Linked DNA regions of Homo sapiens: regions 2 and 3 are each linked to region 1. Evidence: promoter capture Hi-C in 16 types of primary human blood cells and fetal thymus (Javierre and others, 2016). All regions are on one chromosome and are shown on one strand. The core of a region is centred on a gene start or on the middle of the fragment in contact, and the rest is flanking DNA. Distances in the headings are between cores, read along the strand shown.

Region 1 (4,439 bases), core at 933-3,432:
GGACTTAGCGAGAGGCCGTCACCTCGTGGTCGTGCATTCACTTTGTTTATTAAACGACATCTACTTGGCTCATTGACAACTGAGCTTCACTGGGACATTGGAACAGCCCGCCCAGCCCCCCAGGACGTCAGCCTTAAGCGTGAAGACTTCCTTACTCATTTTGCCCATCTTGCTTCTGAAGGCAAAATTACTGCATTTTTTCTTCTGGAAACCCAGCATTACCTGACTCCCTACCTCCACCCCCCGGAAGTCCCTGCTGTGGACACAGGTTTCAAACCCCAGAGAGGCACTTCCACACCGGCATGTTGTTTTAAGTAGAGATAGGGTTAGAGTAACCGCGGTCTTGACTGAAATCCTCTCTAGAACACAGTCGAATGGAAAACCTCCTCTTAACCCTAAGTGTCATTGCTTCGCCTGGCAGCTATATGTGACCTGGTTGGAGGGGAGAGGAGGGTCAAGAAAGGTTATTTCCCCTCTCCACACGCACCCTCCACCCCCGACTTTACATGTAGTAGCCAACTTGACCTTATCTGATCTTTCTGGAATCTTGTGTATAAGTGAGCCACAGTGCATCTCTCGCTATCTTCTAGCTATGTCTTGTTAAAAGCGCATCATTGGGTGGTTGGAAGGCGCCCAGAACCAGATCTCTAAGTGGCTACAGCCACTGGGGAAATGACTCCTCCTAGATTAGAGTCCATTAGCTGGATTCCAGTTTTGAAAGACCTACAAAATCTCCGTGCTTCTTTCTTTTTCTTTCTATCCAAAACTTTCACCTCCTCCAGCCAGGTGTTGCCCAGATATGTAAATAACACCAGAAAGCTGCTGTTGTCCTTCTACGACTATCTTACTGCCATCGGGCGGCAAGGAGGTGGCAGATGTCTGTATTTTTGAACAAACACTCTTAAAGTTGTTCTGAATATCAGCAGAATGGCACACACCCCTCTTCAAAGTATTTATTTTCTCAGTGGCAATTAGCGCCACAAACGAGAGGATGAGTGCCCCGTCACTGGTGTTCTCACTGATTTTTATGGTAGATGAAACAACTCCCTCCAAACGCACCTCTAGGAGCCGAATCTGGTCACCGGCGTACCAAAACCAAGCCGGGAGTCGAGTCTGTAGGGGGTGATTCGTGAGGACAACAATTGTTTTTGGGACAATTTGACTTTTTCTTGATGCTACCTGTTGTGTTTTCTCAGATGAGAGAAAGAGAAGGCGGTTCAAATTAGAGGGTCTCTAAAAGATAATTAGTCAGCAAGAGTCCTGGTGAGCGTTTGTTTAAACAGCTCCTATTAGGGAACCGCGAGCATCGTTAAGTTCATTCATGTAGACTGTATCCTTTCTGTAAGGAATAATCATGTTGGACTTTTGTTTCCTGAAACAAAACCCGACAAAGAGTTGGCTAATGTTTAAGATAAAGGACTGTTGGGAGCTATGTATCTCTATATCAATCATTCTATTTTGCCCTGAAATGTAAGCTTTTCCCCTAGTGTCCCCCTAGCTGCTCCCCATAGGAAAACTCCCCGGCCGAGTTTCCACGGTGAAAAAAATCAGCCCCAAACCCAAGCCATTTCGAAAAAGACGCACTTCTTTGGGATTAATTTAAAGACAGTTATTGTATTTATTTCCTCTGGCAATGAATTCCGTGTCGCCATGGTTTCAGAGAAACGAGAAAGAGAAAATAACTCCCCAAACCGGCCTCGCGCACGCCGTCGGCCAGCGACTGCCAGCGGGATGGGCCTTTGGGCGAACCCTGCCTCCTCCGCCGGTAGACCTAACCCGCAGGCCCGACCTCCGCTGCCTCCGGACGTTCCCGGTTCTGCTGGGCCGCCGCGCTGGACTGAGCGCTCAACCACCCGACCCCAGGGAGCTCGAGGAGCGCGGGTCGCGCACGACGTCGGGAAGGCCCAGGAGGCCGCGAGCAGCGGCGGCAACCGGACAGCGCCGACCCGGCACCCTGAGCTCATTAGGAGTCCAGCGGTCCCGCGGGTAGTAAGATTCAGAGCCCGGAGCCTGGGCGCGCGGAGGGCGGCTCGGGGCCGACTCGTGTCACTCAGCCCTATTGGCCAATGAGCGCCTCGCCCCTGGCCGCGCCAGGCCAATGGGAGGCGAGGGGGCTTGTGAGTGGCATTGAGGGAGGGCGGGAGAGAGGCGGCCCCGGAGTGAAGTTGAAGCTAAACCCTTAAGCTATAAAGAAGTTACGGGGGGCAGTTTTCGGCTTCCAATTAGGAATAATAGTGAACTGGCTTCGTAGCAACTACGGAGGACCAGGATTCTAAAATCACCTCACTCGTCCCAAAGCTTGCATCCTCCTCTTTCTGCCACGCACCCCTCCTCCAATTCATGATCCAGAAAAGGGAGCCGGGAATGCTCTGCTCCTCTCTGCCGGTGGGAAGCGGAGAGGCCGGCGGTGTCGCTGGGTTGGACGGTAGGCATGAGAACAGTTAAGAGATGGGCGCCCCCGAAACCTCTGCCGCTTGTGGGGACTGAAGGTAGGTGAAGCAGAAGACGCCCCGCGCCCGCCCAGCAGCCCCGCAGCTCCGCGGTGGTGTGGGAGAGGCCGCGGCGCCTCCCACCCCCGGGGGAGCCTGCGAGGGGCTGTCGCGAGCGCGCCACCTGTTAACCTGGCGCTGCTGGGCCCCGCTTGTTGCAGCCCCTGCTGGGCAGCCAGAGCGCTGGGTCGCCTTGGGAGTCCCGAGAGACTTGGTGTGTAAGTGTCACTTTTTGAGGAATCCCTCAGACTTGAGACCCAAGTTAAAGAGGTAGCCAAGGTCCAGATCTGCCAAGGTAGGGAGCTGAAAGGCCCCTGCCTCGCCTTGGAGGAATTCTGATTTGCGGAAACCTGCTTTCCTGGGACGTGCGCCCGGCCTGGGCGCGGACTCGGGGATCCGCGGCGGAAGATCCCTTGCGGGTCTTCAGAAATATGTATTTTGTTGTTTGGGCAACTTCCCAGGGGTCTGGAGGATGCGGCTGGCATGGGTGAGGGAATGCCAGCATTATTTGCAGGGGGCTGTCTCGCTGCCGATTTACCCGTTTCTTTAAAAACAAACCCAAAACGCCTGGCTAGGCGCACTGAGGCCCTTTCCGGCCGTGTTTTTGGAATTGGGACGAGTGTGTGAGTACTTGTGGAGCCGCTGATCTCTTATGCTCTGATGCTGTTGTCTTCACAGGGCCTTGAAAGAGTTGTCTGGGGTTCCTGCTCTTCCCAAAGGGGCTCGGAGATACCTTAAATGCCGCGAGACTGAAGAGCAAACGTCAGGGATTATTATGTCGATTTTCCGAGGACCAGGGTTCGCAGCTGGCAGTAGAAGAAAAGGCTGGCTCCTCAGGGGTCCCACTGGCATTTGATACCCTGAACGACCCTCAGGATTGCCCAAATTCGGTGGATCGCCCAAATTCGGTGGATCAGCAACTTTCCTATACTGCATCCCGAATTTTCAAAGAACATATTTTCCGTTCACCCCCGCTGGTCTTTTACTGCCATCAATACACTGTTCTTGGTGCAAATACTTCAGCCTCTTTATTCAAAGTATGTTTTATGTTTTTGCCAAATATGATCTCTAATTGAAAGTTTATTTTTGGTTTTGGATGAATCTGCGGAGCTTAAGTTGTGAGAAGAAAGGGGGAACAAGACACAATGAAAGAAAAGTCCAAAAATGCTGCGCGGACTAGGAGGGAGAAGGAAAACAGTGAATTTTATGAACTGGCTAAATTACTGCCTTTGCCCTCGGCTATCACCTCGCAGCTGGACAAAGCATCCATAATCAGACTCACGACCAGCTATCTCAAAATGAGAGTGGTGTTCCCAGAAGGTAAGTGACTTTGCCCAGATGGAATTTCAAAGGCAGAAGGGGCCGGGGATTTGCCAGGCAATGAGCCGACATCAGTGACCAGAGAAATGCATACATATTTACATATATATTTTGCAAAGGGAAGTTTAGCTCGGCTGCTTCACTAAGGTCCTCACTGAACTCAGAATTTCTGTCGCTTTTTTGAGGCTCCCTCTACCTCCCCATCAATACTTTCTCTTCAGTCCATCAGATATGTTTGGTTGGGAAGCAGCCCAACAGTCCTTTTGTCAACACTTCAGATACTAGGCTCAATTGAAAGTACTACTAATCCAAACATGACTTTCTTTTTTACTCCTCTTGTTAGAATTTTGTCCAGTAAAAACCAGGAGCACCGCCTAATTCTGTATTTTTTTTTTGCCAGGTGTGGATAGACCCATGTACCTGGAGCTAGATAGGCCAGATAATAATTTCTCTATATATCTAAAGATTTGCAAATGAGTAACATGCATATTTGTGAACAAGTATGCCTGAATTTACTCAAGTTCTTAAATAAATTCTAAGCAAATTTATTCCGAGTTTTCAAGACATTCGCAGATTCTGAAACTAACTCTGGAGCTTGATGATTTGCAACTGTGGGCTTGATGTTATCTG
Region 2 (4,663 bases), core at 353-2,852, 270 kb after region 1:
TTTAGAGTTGGTTAGGACCATCTACTCTGAAGTCCCATACCGAGTGACATAAATACTTCCTACTTTGTTCCTACATGGAACAAAGTAAATTTAAAAAGTATAGTAAAAAGTATAGTTAAAAAAAAAGAACTCTGTTTTTATTACATATGTGGGAAAATTTCGATTTGTCTCCCTGTCACAAATTTCTCAGTCTTATTGTTAATGGTCCAAGATCAAAGCAAGGTCTGAGAGTAGGCGTTCTGGAGTTGTTTGGGGTTAGGTCAGTTGTAGCAGCTGTTTGCATTTAAAGTTAAGTTTCTGTTCCAAGTCCTACCCATCCAATCATAAAAGGGTAAATGAGGTGAGATTGGCCAGCAATTTATATCTGGGTCAAAACTTAAGAGGATTGTCAATGTACATGGCTCTGGAGTCGGAGTATTGTCTACTTTTGAGGTACAGTGCATTTTCATCATGCTATTGAATGGCTTTTGTTTTTGTTGCTTTTTTTTTTTGTTTGGTTATTTGCTTTTTAGGCTTTGTTGTTGTTGTTGTTGTTAAAGTAGATGTGCCTTTAAGCTTTGTTTACTCTTGGCAATAATAGATCTTTTTGCTTTAAGGAAACAAAGCTTATAAAAAAATCTTACAAGTCGTTTTGGACGTCAAATGGCTCTTACAAATGATTTAATTATAAGTTAATCAAGAACATGTGGATTATATTTCTCTTCCTAAATACTCATTGGTTTAACATTGCAGGCAAGCTCTTAGAGTGCTTCAGAATATTTGTTGTTACTTATTGGCTTTCCAAATAGGAATGAAGTGATGGAGAAAATAAAAATTCAGGCCAGGCACTGTGGCTCACACCCGTAATCCTAGAACTTTTGGAGGCCAAGGTGGGCGGATCACAAGGTCAGGAGATCAAGACTATCTTGGCCAACATGGTGAAACCCCGGCTCCACTAAAAATACAAAAATTAACTGGACGTGGTGGCGTATGCCTGTATTCCTAGCTACTCGGTAGGCTGAGGCAGGAGAATCACTTGAACCGGGGAGTCAGAGGTTGCAGTGAGCCGGAATCACGCCACTGCACTCCAGCCTGGCGACAGAGAGACTCTGTCTCAAAAAAAAAATAAAAATAAAAATAAAGAAAACAAAATTTAGATCCCTTTCTCCAATCACCTCAAACTGTTAGAACAACAGTTTTTGTATAAGCATTCATTCATAGGCAGAAGTAGTAGTTAATGGAACAAAATTTGCCCAATGACATGCTCTATTTAAAAACGTTCTTTTTGTTAGAGTGGTCAAAACTATGACTTATTCCTTTGTGAAGACAGCTGAACCTAGGGCTTTCTTGGTTAGCGTACATCATGGCATTGCACATTGGCACGTTTTTCAGTGATATTGACATGCATTGCTTAAATGAATGAAAATTTTTACTGTATGTAACACATTTTGTAGAAACTATACTTTCTTATACCAATTCATAGACCGATGCATGTAACCTTGCTCTTGAAAAATGAAATTATATTATCTTTTTGCCATATTTATTGAAAAAGGATATAATTTTATTTCTATTTTTTTCTTGCTCTTTTTCTTTGAATAGGAACATCAGCTGGCCTGTGCCTGAAACTCTTTCTGTATACATTTTCTAAGAAATGCTAAGGTGTGGTAATTGCTAAGGTGGACAATTGCTCAGGTGTGGCATTAGCTCAGTCCATGCACTGATATGTAAACCTATTGGCAAATTCTCTTTTCAAATGACTTAGTCATATAATCATATTGATTTAGCTGATATGGTTATTCTTCTTTCACACTACTGCTAACCAAGAATCAAATTTCCTGCTATAGCTTCCTAGGCCCTGGTCTGGACTGCTTTGACCTCCTTTTGCACCCTTCTCTGTCTCACTGTTCTCCAGCCACACTAACCTACCTTCTGCTTCTCAAAGGAAAGCAGCAAGCATGCTGCCACCTGCTTTTTCCCAGGCCTCAGCACCGGTGGGCCTCAGAGATGTTTTTCCTGTCCACCTATTTGAAGACACTGCATGTCTACTCCCTTGAAAATTCTCCTTCCATACTTAATTTCCTACATTGAATATGTCACTATTTGGATCATTTTAATGCATTTATTTTTTTCCTACCAGCTTCCCTTCATTAGAAAATAAGATTTAGGGGAGCTTATTGTCTTGATCAATGATGTGAGAAGGAGGTTGGCACATAGTAGGTTCTAAATCAACATTGTATAATGAAGAAATAATGAACAAACCAATGTTACTTTCATATAACCCTTGCAGAAGACTGTATATATTTCTTTAGAGAGATGGGTTGCTGTAAAAAAATGGAAAGAATGACTCAAATAAAGAACTTTAATGCTGGGGCTTCTGCTGGAGATTAGGACCCTTAAGTGTGCTCCATGTTTTCCTCTGGTCCAGAGAATTTCACCTCTGGTTGAAGAAAGAACCTTATCCCCACCAAAGAATAGTGCCCAATGGAGAGGAAGCATCTCTAGGACCATTCCTGGAGAGATGGATTAGCAACAGGGAACAAATGGCTATGTCACAGCATAAAGAAAACACTGCTGAAGAGGTGGTGGCCAGGAAAGCCACACTGCATGTTCCTGAAGCTTCTAAGAGATGGAGAGTTGGTAATGGATGAGTGATCTTCATGATCGAATCTACTCAGAAGAAAGGGAAAATAAGAGCTGTCTGGAGTTTTGGTAATTTGTCCTGCAGGGCTTGCCAAGAGAGAAATCATTATAGTTTAAAAAATCAATATTATTATTATGCTACCTCTTAATTAGAGTCCCCAGGTTGTTGTATTATGGCAAACTTCATTACATATTTTCAAATAAAACCTGCCCCCACTCTACTTCCAAGAACCAACATCCCTTGGGTGCCACAGCTATACTCATCTTCATTTGAGCTCAATATCCTGTTTTTATAATATAGTCCCCTTCCTCTCATCATTTGAAAACATTTCAAAAGTAAATTGACTTTTTTTTGGTGTGACCTCCTCCTTTCATGTCCCTAAAAGAATTAAAGCTGGGCAGCAAAAACAATATTGCTTACATTTTTACAAAAATTATTATTTGAATGTAGAAGATTTTCAGTCTATGAACTATAAAGTTTTATTTTGTTCCTACTAAATTTAATTTGAGAGATTGAATGTATTTGTATAATATGATTTAAGGTTTTCAACTGGGAATAATAAAGTTAATAATAAACTAATAAATTTATTGCCGCTCAAATAATGAGTGGAGTAATGACTAACGTGTGTGTGTTTGTGTATGTGTGTGTGTGTGTGTGTGTATGTGTGTGTTGTCTTTCTTTTGGTTATAGATGGAATAGTTTACATATGGTGACAATAAGTAAAGGACCAGATCTCTCATTCCTCATTCAGTTCAGTTTAATACAAACCAACAAACATATCAAACAGATATAATTTAGCCAAATTAAGATTTGGACATTTGAGAGCCTGCCTATGAAAACAAGTGTCGTGATTTTCACGACCATAGGGCATAATTTGGTGATTAAATATGACCTTATTTGGTGGGCAGGAGGTTTCAGTCCAACATAGATCAAGGTAAGAATCTAATTTCAGAATAAAGCCAACTGATAAAAATCAAGATGCCATTTTGAGTAATCTAAATTTTTTCAGTCACTTTTCTTTGGATTAGAGTGTTCTAATAGGTAGCATTGCACAAACAGGAAAGTTTTATGGAAGTGGGGAAATATGGCTTTGTTCTAAATGTTTTATTTCTAAAGTTCGAGGGCCATGTAAATGAGGACAAAAAAGAATTGTTAGGGTCAATGCTGGCAATGGGGGAGTGACGGTCACAGAAATGAATCGTTTAAAGAAAGGGAAGATATCAAATCTGCATAGATTAAGGGAATAGCTATTATGTGAGCCAAGCCTCCTTTTTCTGATCTCCAGCTTTCCCTGTTCCATCTTTTTTCCAATTCAAAAATGCTAGAAGAGGCAGCACAGGCAGCAACAGCTCCAACAGATCACAAGCCTGGCACTGCCAGAATCTAGGCCAGTCACAGCTGCAAATCTTCCTTCAGCTTTGGGGTCCCTGGCATTAACTGGCAGCTTTTCTAGGCTCGTGGAACAGCTAATCAACAGCACAATTCACACAGGGGGAAGAGGCAAGAGGCTCTCTTTCAGGCCACCTCTGTAGACCTTCAAGTCACACAATGTATTTTTAAACAATAGTATAAACGTGGCATATAGACACTATCTAATTCTGAGATGTGTGATGGGTTAAGTGTATTTAACTATGACTTTAAACATATTAGGGCATCAAATTGTCTTGCAGCAACATCTATTATTTCAAAGTAGATTTTTGAGCTCCAGACAATGGTGTGCTTGTTTCAAATAATGTTTCCCATTATATTTCCCTAGAAAGGCTCCAGAGAGTTTGCTGCAATGAGATTCAAATTACTCACAAGTTTACTACACAGTTCATATGAAAATTCTAGTGGGGAACATTGTTATGGATGGGGTAGCAAAAGTAATATTATTTATGCATCTAATTTTTAGAAAAATAGTTCTCTTGATCTAATTAGAAGTTCTAATAATTAGAGTAGGACCAAAAGTTACATCTGAATTGGCAAGGCAAGACCATTTGGAACACGTCAAAAGTCCATTGTTATCTTTTATGAGGAAGGGGTATATGTAGGCAATAAGAA
Region 3 (4,174 bases), core at 415-2,914, 320 kb after region 1:
AAATACATTTATAAACATCGTTACCAGGTAGCAAGAGGTGATTCTGTCCAATGTTTGCAGAGATTTTATGGTTGGCAAATATAGTGTGAAATTTGCAAAGATATTGGGCTATGAGTGTGTTTACATTGGATAAGTAAAAAAGCCCCGCTTACCCGGTGAGCTTTATTAATGTAGACAGTCAATTTGAATAATATGGGCCCCAAAGTTTGCTTTTTCTTATCAAAACTTTTAGGTCAAAACTATTGAGAGAATGTTTCATCTCACAGCTCTCTTTCATTTTTATGGGAAGAGGTTTCAAATTTATGAAACACCAAATATTTACTACTTGACAAGATTAAAAGAAATTGCATTTGAAAATATTTGCTGTCAGCATACTCTATGATTTTTAAAAAATTTACTAATGAGGCTTTTAAAAAATAACCTTGGATCTCACAGACTTGAAGCAGTTATATTCTTTGCAGTAACTCTTGGGAAGCCACACATGTAATTAAACCCTGAGTCTAAATCTCTAATCACTTGGTTTTGACAACTTCTGTTTAGTGTGTTCTGCCAACAACATATTAATTAGATGTAACCCAGTGGTTTCAGGTCATTTCAGGAAAGCAAACAGAGCTCCAGGGATTACATGCTAAAACTCAACTATCTTCTTGGCTATTTTGTAAAATAAAGAAAGTGGAGACCTACAGTAATTCTCATAAAGACCAGCTATATGAGGAAAAAGAAGAGGTTTTGGACACATGTATTACCAAGATTATATGTCTCTATTAATTGTTTACTTTGCCAGCTTAGACCTATTCAGAGTAATCTGCTGAGTTCCAAAGGAAAACATAAGGGACTAAATAAACAACTTAAATCTTATGAAATAGTTTATTTGGAGAGTACACTGCTAAATAATAGAAGCAGGTGTGGAAAACATTTGTGCACCACACCAAGGATTTGTACCTAAGTCACTTAGAGGGGAATTATCATAATCATCTGTCCTAGTCATATCAGTGTTTGATATGTTGTCCTCCCAAAAGATTGATAATAAAATAATATCTCATCTTTATTATTATAGTAATAATAAAAATCACTGGACAAAAATCAGTATTTATCTACAATGTTGACTTGAATCATAACATTATTAAAATCCTTACATATATCAAAATAAAGTCATACCAACAGGCTTTATATGATTATAATATTGATTTAAAAATCACTAGGGAAAATGAATCTCTTTAGTATATTTTAGTTTTTTGTTTTTAGAATTTTAGAGAAAAATGTTCCCTGACCTTTTAAATAATTTCCCTGTCAGAAACATTAATTTCCTTCTATATTCAGTGCTGGGCCAGGATGTGGATGCTTTTGCTTTTCCCAACATGTGGTATTGCCTTTGGAGTAAAATTTAAATGGGACCAAGGTATTTCTGCTCCTGGCCCTACAGCTCCTGCCTCCAGGTCTGCAGCCTCTGGGTTTTCCTCAGCACCTTTTGCAGTTCCTTGAAAAGAAGCTTCCCTCTCAAAAGCATTATTAAGATAGACTTTACTGAAGACCTTGAGGAGAGAAAAAGGAGATTTGCTTTGCAAACTTCATAGAAAACAACATAAAAATTATATATATAAAAAAATATCTCCCAAGCTCCTTTCTCAGACACCCGCAACTCTTCTCTCTTTCTGATCATTCTGGCTAGTTTTTACTCTTCTTTCCTTTTGGATCTTCTCCTGGAAACTTCAAATCATTCCCCCATCTTTTGTGCAGAGCCATTCAACTCTGCCCATCTTCCATGCCAACATGGTATACTCAAACCCGGCATATAGGGCTTTCAGCCATAGGGCTAGAGGGACAAGTCCCACAAGCTTTGTAGGATGATTAATTAACCCATAGGGATCTCATCTTCCATACTAAGAAGTTTGTCCAAATGGTGTCTTTTCCTAAAAATATATGATGTTCTCCCTAGGAGAAATTTTGTAGAATAAAAAATTCTCCATTTGTTTTAATAATACTATCATTTTTCTGATTGAGCAATCCTAATATCCTTTAACTACACAGTAAGAAAGGCCAAGGAATAGGATAATGCACAAAGATATCCATCAACTCTCTGGAGAATTGTCTCCTAAAATAAACTCCAAGCAATTATAATATCAAAGTATACATTGCCACATATGTTTTGGTCAATCTAGAAGACCTGATTCTAAATACATATTTTTGTTTGAGAATGACCTTTAATTACTCATCATCACTTCTCCACTACATCCCCTAAGAGTAAATCCAGTTTTTAGATTAAAAAGCCTTAGAAAGTTTTATATCTCATAAGTTTATATTAAGGGGATCTAAATTATTTAAAGGAACAGATTCAGCCAATGAAAGAGCTTCTATTCAAAGACAAATGCTCTTTTCTTACAATATCAAAGAAATTTGGATTTGCAAATGTAGTTATTAAAGATGTCACTGTATGTTTAAGAAGTAACTTGCAAAACTGAATGAGCATTGGCTTAGAAACCTAAGAAGGGCCTTGGTGAGGTGATGAGGAGTTGGGTAAGGGTGGTGTGGGGTAAGTGAAAATGACGCCCATTTGATTTTCTAGTTGTGTGTTGTGATGCATGTTAACTTGACAAGAGAAAGGACTGGCAGCTCATAGTAACAGATCCAGGTCTGACTATGCCTCCATTTCTAACCTGTAACATTGGTGAGTTACCCAATCTTTCTAAGTTCCAACTTTCTCATCTGTAAAAAGGAAATAAGAAATCCTGCCTCAGGGCATTACTGTGAGCATTAATTATGTGAGAGTTTTACACATGGAAAGACATCAAGACAGTGCCATTGGATTTTCACAGATGCAGAGTGGTCAGGGTCTTACTGGTTTTTTTGGTGAGCCTCTTCTTCCTTCTAGTCTCAACCCAGTGTGTCTCCCTGTCAGTTCCCGAAATCATCTGTGCTTGGCACTGAGCAAACTTCTGTGGAGATTACTTTGACCTAATATTTCTCAAAACTTTGCAGGGTTAGTTCTAGGGCCACCTTTTCCATAGGCACTAGGCACATTTACTCTTGTAGGCCTCTGCCTCCAAAAAATCTTAAAAATTATGTTTTGCAAATCTGTTGGTATAAAGATAATTCAGGCTTGATTCATTTTTATATATTCATTATTATATAACATTCACTTTTCCTTCTGATTTTTAAAAGAACTTAGCCCTTTTTTGTGTGCCCCTAAAAGTATATTGGGCCCTAGGCAGGGTGCTTACTGTGCCTAATTCCTTTTTTTAAAAAAAATATTTATTTATTTATTTATCTATATTTTATTTTTTGAGACTGAGTCTTGCTCTGTCACGAGGTTGGGGTATAGTGGCGCGATCTAGGCTCACTGCAACCTCCGCCTCCTGGGTTCAAGCAATTCCCCTGCCTCAGCCTCCTGAGTAGCTGGGACTACAGGCATGTGCCACCACACCCGACTAATTTTTTGTATTTTAGTAGAGACGGGGTTTCACCATGTTGGCCAGGACGGTCTTGATCTCCTGACCTCGTGATCCGCCTGCCTCTGCCTCCCAAAGGGCTGGGATTACAGGCGTGAGCCACCGCTCCCGGCCACTCTGCCTAATTCCTGTCGGAGTCTCCAACTTTTCATTTGTAGTACTTTTTCTTAAGTATTTGAGAAAAATTCTCAATCCCCTCTCTTCTTTTGCTCTTCGTTGCACACATTAATTTTCTCTAATCTTTCTTCATAGATTCATTTCTTTTATCCTTTTATCATCTTGGTTTCCCTCTTTTGGATCCCTGTGGATTTTAGTGAAGGTATTGATGTTTCTTTTTGGTAAGCAGAAAATTATACATAATACCCTGGGCCACCTGATGGAGGCCATAGTGAATAAAATGATTTATTTCCTCTTAGACATGTGAAACTCTACTTTTTGAACTTTTCTAAGTGCATTTGTGCTTTTTAATTTTTATTTGTCTTTAGTAGCTATTAGGGCATATTTAATTTCTTCTGAACTCTTACCCCTAGATTTTTACTGCTCTCCAAATGTCATTGTTTCATTTGTTCCTTTTTGACTTCATACACGAAATATTCCCAAACCAATAATAAATCAAACATTTAGCCATGGAGATTGAACGCACCATCACCTGTCTCCAAAGTGTAACTGTTAAAAGAAAGGAACAACCCGAGGGACCCAGATTTTAAGAGGGCTTACAACAGAGTGGC

The links. The method cuts DNA at HindIII sites, captures the fragments that hold promoters and counts their contacts. A CHiCAGO score of 5 or more calls a contact.
Region 2: a contact is called between a fragment that was not itself captured here and the fragment with the promoter of SIM1 in region 1, in 1 of 17 cell types (endothelial precursors). The highest score is 8.8, in endothelial precursors.
Region 3: a fragment that was not itself captured here is called in contact with the fragment with the promoter of SIM1 in region 1 in 1 of 17 cell types (endothelial precursors); the score reaches 9.9 in endothelial precursors.

The regions. Positions count from the first base shown.
Region 1 is chr6:100,462,664-100,467,102 of GRCh38, reverse strand. SIM1 (SIM bHLH transcription factor 1) reads left to right here and starts at 2,182. Exons shown (of 12, transcript NM_005068.3): 1 at 2,182-2,489; 2 at 3,168-3,809. The coding sequence starts at 3,635. The HindIII fragment of the contact is 823 bases long and covers 1,478-2,300 here.
Region 2 is chr6:100,190,334-100,194,996 of GRCh38, reverse strand. No RefSeq gene overlaps it. Among named protein-coding and RNA genes, the nearest start is that of MCHR2, 200 kb to the right of the region's middle. The HindIII fragment of the contact is 1,990 bases long and covers 608-2,597 here.
Region 3 is chr6:100,143,739-100,147,912 of GRCh38, reverse strand. No RefSeq gene overlaps it. Among named protein-coding and RNA genes, the nearest start is that of MCHR2, 150 kb to the right of the region's middle. The HindIII fragment of the contact is 346 bases long and covers 1,492-1,837 here.